2 separate regions of the Homo sapiens genome follow, and region 1 is linked to region 2. The links are contacts of gene promoters, found by promoter capture Hi-C in blood cells and fetal thymus (Javierre and others, 2016). All regions are on one chromosome and are shown on one strand. Each heading gives the region's core, a stretch centred on a gene start or on the middle of the fragment in contact. The rest is flanking DNA. Distances are from core to core; before and after follow the strand shown. Region 1 overlaps RYR1 (ryanodine receptor 1). Region 2 holds the start of LGALS7B (galectin 7B).

What was found. The method cuts DNA at HindIII sites, captures the fragments that hold promoters and counts their contacts. A CHiCAGO score of 5 or more calls a contact.
Region 1: a contact is called between a fragment that was not itself captured here and the fragment with the promoter of LGALS7B in region 2, in 1 of 17 cell types (naive CD8 T cells). The highest score is 6.2, in naive CD8 T cells.

What each region holds. Positions count from the first base shown.
Region 1 is chr19:38,539,398-38,543,678 of GRCh38, reverse strand. RYR1 (ryanodine receptor 1) reads right to left here. Exons shown (of 106, transcript NM_000540.3): 85 at 244-332; 86 at 19-147. Among named protein-coding and RNA genes, the nearest start is that of MAP4K1-AS1, 55 kb to the left of the region's middle. The HindIII fragment of the contact is 8,158 bases long and covers 1-4,281 here.
Region 2 is chr19:38,787,827-38,792,316 of GRCh38, reverse strand. It overlaps LGALS7B (galectin 7B), which reads right to left and starts at 3,117. Exons shown (of 4, transcript NM_001042507.4): 1 at 3,085-3,117; 2 at 2,613-2,701; 3 at 1,427-1,628; 4 at 563-737. The coding sequence starts at 3,090. The coding sequence ends at 624. The HindIII fragment of the contact is 12,505 bases long and covers 1-4,490 here.

The sequences.
Region 1 (4,281 bases), core at 1,348-3,847, 250 kb after region 2:
CCAGGGGGAGCGCCCTACCTGGATGTACTCAGTGAGGCTGTTGAACACCTGCTTAGCCACCGACATGGCTTTGGAGAAGTTCCTCTTGCCCTGCTCTTCAATGACATCCTTGCCCGAGTAGTACCAGTAGAAGTCGCTGATGGATTCCTGGTGGGGGCGGGTAGGGTGTGAGGGGGTGCTGGGGCCGACCATGGCCCTGCAGCCCCCGACCCAAGTCACACCTGAACCGTCTCACGTCCTCACCTGCAGCCGCAGGAGGTAGTCCACAGTGCAAATGATGATGTTAATAGTGGTCGTGTTCCCTGTCTGTGTCCGTAGGTAGTTCTGGAAATCTGGGGAGATGAAAAGTCATTTATCCAGCACCTCCCATGTGCTAGGGGAGATGAACAGTGGGTCATTTATTCATTTATGCAATACTCATGTGTTGAGTTCCTATTGTATGCCAGAAAGCATATCATCATCAATTTATTTAATAACTATCAAGTACTTACTATGTGACAGAGAAAGATGGATGATCATTTATTCATTTGTCTAAAAATACTGGCCGGGTGGCTCACGCCTGTAATTCCAGCACTTTGGGAGGCCCAGGCAGGCAGATCACCTGAGGTCAGGAGTTTGAGACCAGCCTGACCAACATGGTGAAACCCCGTCTCTACTAAAAATACAAAAATTAGCTGGGTGTGGTGGTGGGCACCTGCAATCCTAACTACTTGGGAGGCTGAGGCAGGAGAATCGCTTCAACCCCGGAGGCAGAGGTTGCAGTGAGTGGAGATCTCACCATTGCAGTCCAGCCTGGGCAACAAGATGGAAACCCCGTCTCAAAAATAAATAAATAAATAAATAAATAATTTTAAAATAGGCTGGGAGCGGTGGCTCACACCTGTAATCCCAGCACTTTGGGAGGCCCAGGTGGGTGGATCACTTGAGGTCAGGAGTTTGAGACCAGCCTGGCCAACATGGTGAAATCCCGTCTCTACTAAAAAAAATACAAAATTAGCCAGGTGTGGTGGCATGTGCCTGTAATCCCAGCTACCTGGGAGGCTGAGGCAGGAGAATTGCTTGAACCCGGAAGGCAGAGGTTGCAGTGAGCCTAGATCATGCCACTGCACTCCAGCTTGGGCAACAAGAGTGAAACTCCGTCTCAAAAAATAAATAAATATAAAAAAATAAAATATAAATATTATTGAGGGCCTGCTATGTGTCAAATGTGGTGGAGCGTCATTTATTCATTCAGTTTTTTCCAACAAATTTGTATATTGACCACCAACTATGTAGCAGGGAGAAATAGAGATTCAGTTCCTCGTTAGTTTCCAAACAATTTTATCAAATTCCTCCTATGTGCTGGGGATATTCATGCATTTATCCAACAAATATTTATTGAGCACCTACTAAAGGCCAGGGAACATATGGATTGGTCACTTGTTCATTTATTCAACATATTTTATTGAGTGTATACTACATCCTCACGAGATTAAGATTGTCACATCCTCTTTGCTACAACAAATTTGTTGCGTTCTTACTATGTGTCATGCAGTATTCTAGGCTCTGGGGATACAGTAGTAAAAAAAAAAAAAACAGTCCCCGGCCTTGGGGGGGATTTTTTTTTTTTTTTGACAAGGTCTCCCTCTGTTGCCTAGGTTGGAGTACTGTGGCATGATCATAGCTCACTGCAGCCTTGACCTCCTGGGTTCAAGTGGTCCTCCCACCTCAGCCTCCCAGGTAGCTGGAACTATAGGTGTGAGCCACCACATCCGGCCAATTTTTAATTTTTTTGTTGAGACCAGCCCAGGCTGGTCTCGAACTCCTGGCCTCAAGCAACCCTCCTACCTTGACCTCCCATAGTGCTGGGATTACAGACATGAGCCGTATGTCCAGCCCCTGCCCTTGTGAAGTTTATATTCTTGTGCAGTAATTTTTTAATCTTTTCTGACTGCAATCTATGGTAGGAAATCCTTTTTTTTTTGAGATACAGTCTTGCTCTGTCACCCAGGCTGGAGTGCAGTGGCATGATCTCAGTTCACTGCAAACTCTGCCTCCCAGGTTCAAGCAATTCTCCTGCCTCAGCCTCCTGAGTAGCTGGGATTACAGGCATGCGCCACCACGCCCGGCTAATTTTTTTGCATTTTTAGTAGAGACAGGGTTTCACCATATTGGACAGGCTGGTCTCCAACTCCTGACCTTGTGATCCACCTGCCTCGGCCTCCCAAAGTGCTGGGATTACAGGTGTAAGCCACCACACCCAGCCGAGGAAATCCTTTTTACATTGAGACCTGATACATGTGTTCAATCTGAAATTATATTCACCTATTCCCGAAAGAGAAGTTTCACATTGCCTTACTCTGTGCCATGCATTCTGTTCTTTTCTGTCCTGTACTGCTCTAGTTAACTACAAAAGAAGAAGTGTGTGCTTCTCATCCTCTCAACCTTGGCTGCACATCAGGACAACTAGGAGGCTTTTAAAAACCCCAGTGCTCAGGCCCAACCCCAGATCAATTGAATTAGAACCTGTAAAGGCAAAACCTGGGCTTAAGTCTCTTTTAAAGCTCCCCAGGCATGCCAGTGTACAATTACAATGAGAACCTCTGCGTGAAACTGATTCATGAACGTCTGTCTGATGGGTTGGTTCCCACTATTTAAAAAACATTGTTCTGTGAAAGCAAACTGTTAAAGCTGAGTGATGGGTAGTTGGGGGTTTATTATACTGTAATATATGATTGGAGGTTTATTACACTGTAGTATATGATTGGAGGTTTATTACACTGTAGTATATGATTGGAGGTTTATTACACTGTAGTATATGATTGGAGGTTTATTACACTGTAGTATATGATTGGAGGTTTATTACACTGTAGTATATGATTGGAGGTTTATTACACTTTAGTATATGATTGGAGGTTTATTACACTGTAGTATATGATTGGAGGTTTATTACACTGTAGTATATGATTGGAGGTTTATTACACTGTAGTATATGATTGGAGGTTTATTACACTGTAGTATATGATTGGAGGTTTATTACACTGTAGTATATGATTGGAGGTTTATTACACTGTAGTATATGATTGGAGGTTTATTACACTGTAGTATATGATTGGAGATTTATTACACTGTAGTATATGATTGGAGGTTTATTACACTGTAGTATATGATTGGAGGTTTATTACACTGTAGTATATGATTGGAGGTTTATTATACTGTAGTATATGATTGGAGGTTTATTATACTGTAGTATATGATTGGAGGTTTATTATACTGTAGTATATGATTGGAGGTTTATTATACTGTAGTATATGATTGGAGGTTTATTATACTGTAGTATATGATTGGAGGTTTATTATACTGTAGTATATGATTTTTTTTTTTTTTGGTAGAGACAGGGTCTCCTTATGTTGCCCAGACTTGTCTTGAACTGCTGGGCTCAAGTGATCCTCCTGCCTCAGCCTCCTAAAGTGCTGGGATTACAGGCATGAGCCACAGTGCCCAGCCAAGTCCTTTTAAATGTTTATAGCAACATCATGTTGCACAGGAAGGTTTTAACAGCCCCTGAAAGTATTTTTGCCCCCCGTTTTTCTTTCCCCTTAACTTTTTTACAGTCAGTTCACAATTGCTCTATCAGGTTGGCTCAACAGAAGGCCCATTTTGCCTAGTTTCATGACATAGACAAAGCATACTCAAATATTCAAAATTTTATAAGCAAAGGTACAGGTTTTCCCATCAACCCTGCTTTCTAACTCCTTTATTTGTGTTAATTTAAATTGTTAAATTAAATTGTGTTAATTTAAATTGGGCTATATGCAAAAATAAAAGATACACAGCTCCTGTAAAAAAAATTCTGGCAACTGACAACACCTGTTATAGACATGTGCAAATAAGTGAGAGACAAACCTTTTGTCTGCTTTGAATAGCACTGACTCCTCAAGACATGCAAGGGGTCTGAGATTTGAAAGATATTTCAAATATCTATTTGATTAGGTCATGAATTTAGGCGAGGACTGGGTTGCAAATATGTTGGGAGACAGCAATCCCTTTCATAACAACATTCTCATTTTCAAAACTTCATATTCCTGAGGAATAAAATTTATTTTAAACCCAAAGACTGATTCCATCTTAGTTAAAATTAAAGAATGAAAATCTTAGTCCCGGCTGGGTATGGTGGCTCACACCTGTAATCCCAGCATTTTAGGAGGCCAAGGCAGGAGGATTGCTTGAATCCAGGAGTTTGAGATCCCCTGGGCAACACAGTGAGATCTCATCTCTACAAAAAATAAAAAACTTAGCCAG
Region 2 (4,490 bases), core at 1,868-4,367:
GTGCGCAGGCGGGTACCTGTCCCGACTCGGGGAACAGCGGGAGCCCGGAGACGCCCGTCGGGCTTCCCAGCCCCACCTGGGACGTCTCTAGGGGCGGGAGGCCAGGAGAGAAGAGGGTGGGAGAGATGAGCTGCAGGGGGATACGGGACCCAGGGACCCGGGATCTTATAACACGCTTTCCACCCGTAGGATTGGGGCCCACAAATGACCAGAAAGGTGGGACTCATTCGCCCCCTTTGCAGATGGACCCATGTTGGCGCCCCTTAGATCTGCAGTGGGGGCACCAGGACCTGCGGTGAGCGCCTCTGCGCCCCAAACGCCAGCAGGTCCGCCCGACCGCATTCCCAGCTGGCTTGCTTTGCACAAATGCTGCGTCAGGGCACGCCCCACACCCACTCCTTCCCAGATCGCGACCCTCACGCCTTCGCAGACAGAAAGTGTCCTAAGCACAGGCAGGCTCAGAGCCCGCCTCCGCCTCGGATTCGCTGTGTGGCCCGGAGCCAGTATCTTGGCCTCTCTGGGTCTCAGTTTGCTCATCTCAGTGAATGGGACACAGACACAGTCGCGCTGCGGGCTAACGCTTTATTTGCCAGCCAAGGCCCCGGGCCCGCCTGGGCTTCTGCTCAGAAGATCCTCACGGAGTCCAGCTGCACGTCCCCGCCCACCTCCACCAGGCGCACGCGCGCCAGCGGCAGGCGGTGGCGGAAGTGGTGGTACTGGGCGTCCCCAACCACGGCCTGCAGGGGAGGGTCGGTGGTGAGGATTCCGGAGGCCCGTGCTGGGTGGCCCTGGGGAAATCACTCATCCCCTCTGGGCCTCAGTTTCCTCACTGGGAAAATGGGGCTATTGTTCATTCTAACTCTTGCGTGAGGATCAAACGAGTTGACTGTGTGGCACAGTAAAAAGCGGCTTTTTTAGTGCTGGTAATGGATATTCTCATTTCAGCGACCATTACCCGCTATTAAAGCGCAGAGGAGGGAGGTGAATTCGCGTAAGCTGTGGGTGGTGGAGGATCTGCCGCCACTCCCACCCGCCAATCCTTGCTAGGACGAGTTCCTGGGCGCTGTTTCCAACCCATCCCTCCCCATGCCTCAAACCCCGGACCTCAGGAAGGAATGAACTGGGAGTAGGGTCTGGGATGGCGAGTCTGGGCCACGCCTTCCCGCTAGGACGCCCACCCCTTGGACACTTGGCTGGTGCTCGCCTCGTCCTGACCCTGCTGTCTCTCTGTCCCTCGGACCCAAGTGGGAGTTGTTTAGGCGAGAGAGAGGGTCGAAGGACACCCTTCTCCGCCTTGGCCACGACTTCCCTACCCCCCTCACCCCGCCCCGAACCTCCCTGCCTTCCACCAATAGCCTGGCTTTGCCCAACCCTCTGCTCCAGGGACCTAAGTCTTGGCGTCCACGCCCCTGTCGCAGAGACGCACCTTGAAGCCGTCGTCTGACGCGATGATGAGCACCTCGAAGGGCTGCCCGCGCTGGAAAGGAACGCCCGGCCCGCGCTCCTCGCGGCCCCAGGAGCCTTGCTCCTTGCTGTTGAAGACCACCTCCGACGTGTCCAGCCGGGGGTTGAAATGCAGGGCGGCATCGGAGCCCTGCTCCTCCCCGCACAGCAGGTTTACATGGAACCTGGAAGAGGGGGATGGTGGCCGTCAGGGCTCAGAAACCACCCAGACCAAGAAATGTTGAGGGTGAGGAATACCGATGTCTACAATTTACTTTGAATGAATAAGTAAATGAAATGTTGGCTGGGTGCAGTGGCTCACCCTGTAATCCCAGCACTCTGGGAGGTGGAGAAGGGAGGATCGCTTGGGCCCGGAAGTTAAAGACCAGCCTGGGCAACATAGCGAGACCCCACCTTACAAAAAAACGAAAGAACAAACAAAACATAAACCGCCCAGACCAAAGTGAAGGTCTTATGGGCTGGCACTCCCCATTCCCAGAGTACCCCCAAATTAACAGGGACCTGAAGACAGGCACACACCGCAGAAGGAGAGGTGGGCGACTAATGACCAGGGAGCTTAGATTCCCAAGGCAGCCAAAATATCATGAGGCCCTTGGCAGAAACCTACCCAGACCAAACTCACTACGCTTAGGGCAGGGTGCCCTCATTTCCAAAGAGCCTGGGAGCTGCCCAGGAGGTCTGGGTGATAGCCAGGGTGCTCCTGATGCTCAGGGAACCCTCAGCTTCTACAGGACAAAGAATAATACCAGGAACCCCAGTATTTCCAGGGTACCTCAGAATCCAGAAGGCCCGAAGTTCCTTAGCCAGGAAGTCAAAGGATGGCTTGGCAAGGACTCCCAGGGTCCAGGGTGTCTCCAGGACTTGGAGTATTTCCAGAGTTCCCTGGGACTCAGACATGGAAGTCATAGGACTATATCTAGGAACCCTGAGATTACCCAGGGACCTCAAATGCTTAGGGAAACTTAGGGACCCCAGCCACAAAGGCACGGGGGCAAATACGAATACATCAGATTTGAGGTCAGAAATGGCCTCGGACTCCTAGCCTGGTGGATACAGGTGGCCTCGGGCCCCTACTTCTGGACTGCAAAAATTGGGAGTCAGCTGATCCTGAGACCTGTACCCTTTACCCCTAGGGCCTGGGGCCTCACCTGCTGGCATTGGGAGGAACCAAGCCGCGAATTCTCAGCACCGTGCCAGGGCGGATGCCCTCGGGCAGTGAGGACTTGTGGGGGACGTTCTGCAAGAGTGGGGTGCAGGGGCCACTGTGAGCCGGTGAGACCGAAGGAGGGAGGCAGAAGGTGGGTCACCCCTCAGAGGAGCCGACCAGGGCTGAGACTGGCAGAAATCAGTGGAAGAGGAAAGGGTGGCGGAGAGGCAGGAAAGAGACCAGAAACAGACAGGGAAACAGATGGGGAGAGCAACAAAGACAAACAGAAAGATCCTCAAAGAGGGCCCCAGAGGAAGCCACAAAGAGGTAGAGGGGACAGTCGGGATGGGGGTTACCCGGAGGCCACAGCCCAGGCCAGTCCGTGGCACACTCACTGCCCACTTGCTCCTTTGAAAGAGGAGCCCCCAGCCCCCTCCCTGCTTGGCCCCGCCCCGGGCCCCTGGAGCACTCACGGACATGGCTGGGACCGGGTTGGGCAGCCGTGGTGGTGGGGCCTGCTGGGGACCTTAAATAAAAGCAGGGCGGGGCTGGCCCTGATGACTCACCCCACCCCTTCCCACCCACCACCCACACCTGGCACGGACCCTGGCCCTGGGGCAAGCCTGGCGAAGTGGGAGTGGCGCCTCTTCTTGGGGGCCCTGATCCCCCCATCACCCAGAGCCCGGGTGCACTGCCCCTCTCCTAGGAGCTGATAATAAGAGCCACCGCCCCTCCACCCCTGTCTTCCCACTGCCTGGCACACAGGAGAGTCTCTCATGCTCATTTTATCCACAGACATGTTGGGTCCTGAGAAGCCAAGCCCAGCGGGAACTCTAGACCCTTCTCTCCAGCTGAGAACCTCCTGCCTAGACTGGAAATGTCTGCGCTGAAATCCCTGCTTCTAAGTCTCCAGTGGAACAGCAGCCACAACAACGACGATAGTGCCAGACAGGGGGACTTCACAGGGTCGGAGGGCGGCCTGGTTGGCTCAGTGCTGCACCCCTGGGTCCTGGAGTGTGCCGGGTTCATGGGAAGTCCTCAGTCAGGAGGGGTGAAAGGAGGGGATCCACTAGGACTACGCTTGTCATTTCCCAGGCCCTTGGGCTGCCCAGGATATGCAGGAAATCACTGATTGGGACCCCACCATTCCAACAGAGAGAAGCATGGGTCACCCCCATTGTACAGAGAAGGAGGCTGAGGCTGGGATGGGAAGTGATTTTCCACAAGCCGGGCAGGACCCATTGCCCCAACCTCTGCCTTTCCTCACCTCTGGGCGTGCCTCTCCTGTGGGTTCTGTCTCTGGGGCTGGCTGTCTGGCTCTGTTTGTCTCTGTCTATAACTGTCTACCGCGTATTCCTGTCCCACTTCTCTCCTTCAAGTCTCTCTTGTTCCTCCTTCCAGGACTGTTACCATCTTCCCACCAATTTTGCAGGTCAGGATGAGGTGGGTTTTAGGGTGGTGGGTGGCCTAGCATTCCATCACCACCTAGATCAAAAGCAGAGCAAGGTGGGGACCCTCCCGCCAGCCCCAATATAGCCCGCTTGGGCCCAAGACTCTAGAAGAGAATCCAGGGTTGGGGAAGTAGACTGGGGGAGGCGGGGGGGGGGGGGGGGGCGGGCAGGACTGAAATCTGTTTCTGAAAGGCAGGGATGGTGTGGGAGCTGAACAGAAACCACTCCTGGCTGGGCATGGTAGCTCACGCCTGTAATCCCAGCACTTTGGGAGGCCAAGGTAGGTGGATCACTTGAGGTCAGGAGTTCAAGACCAGCCTGGCCAACATGGTGAAACCCCTTCTCTATAGAAAATACAAAAAATTGGCCAGGTGTGGTGGTGGACACCTGTAATCCCAGCTACCTGGGAGGCTGAGGCAGGAGAATTG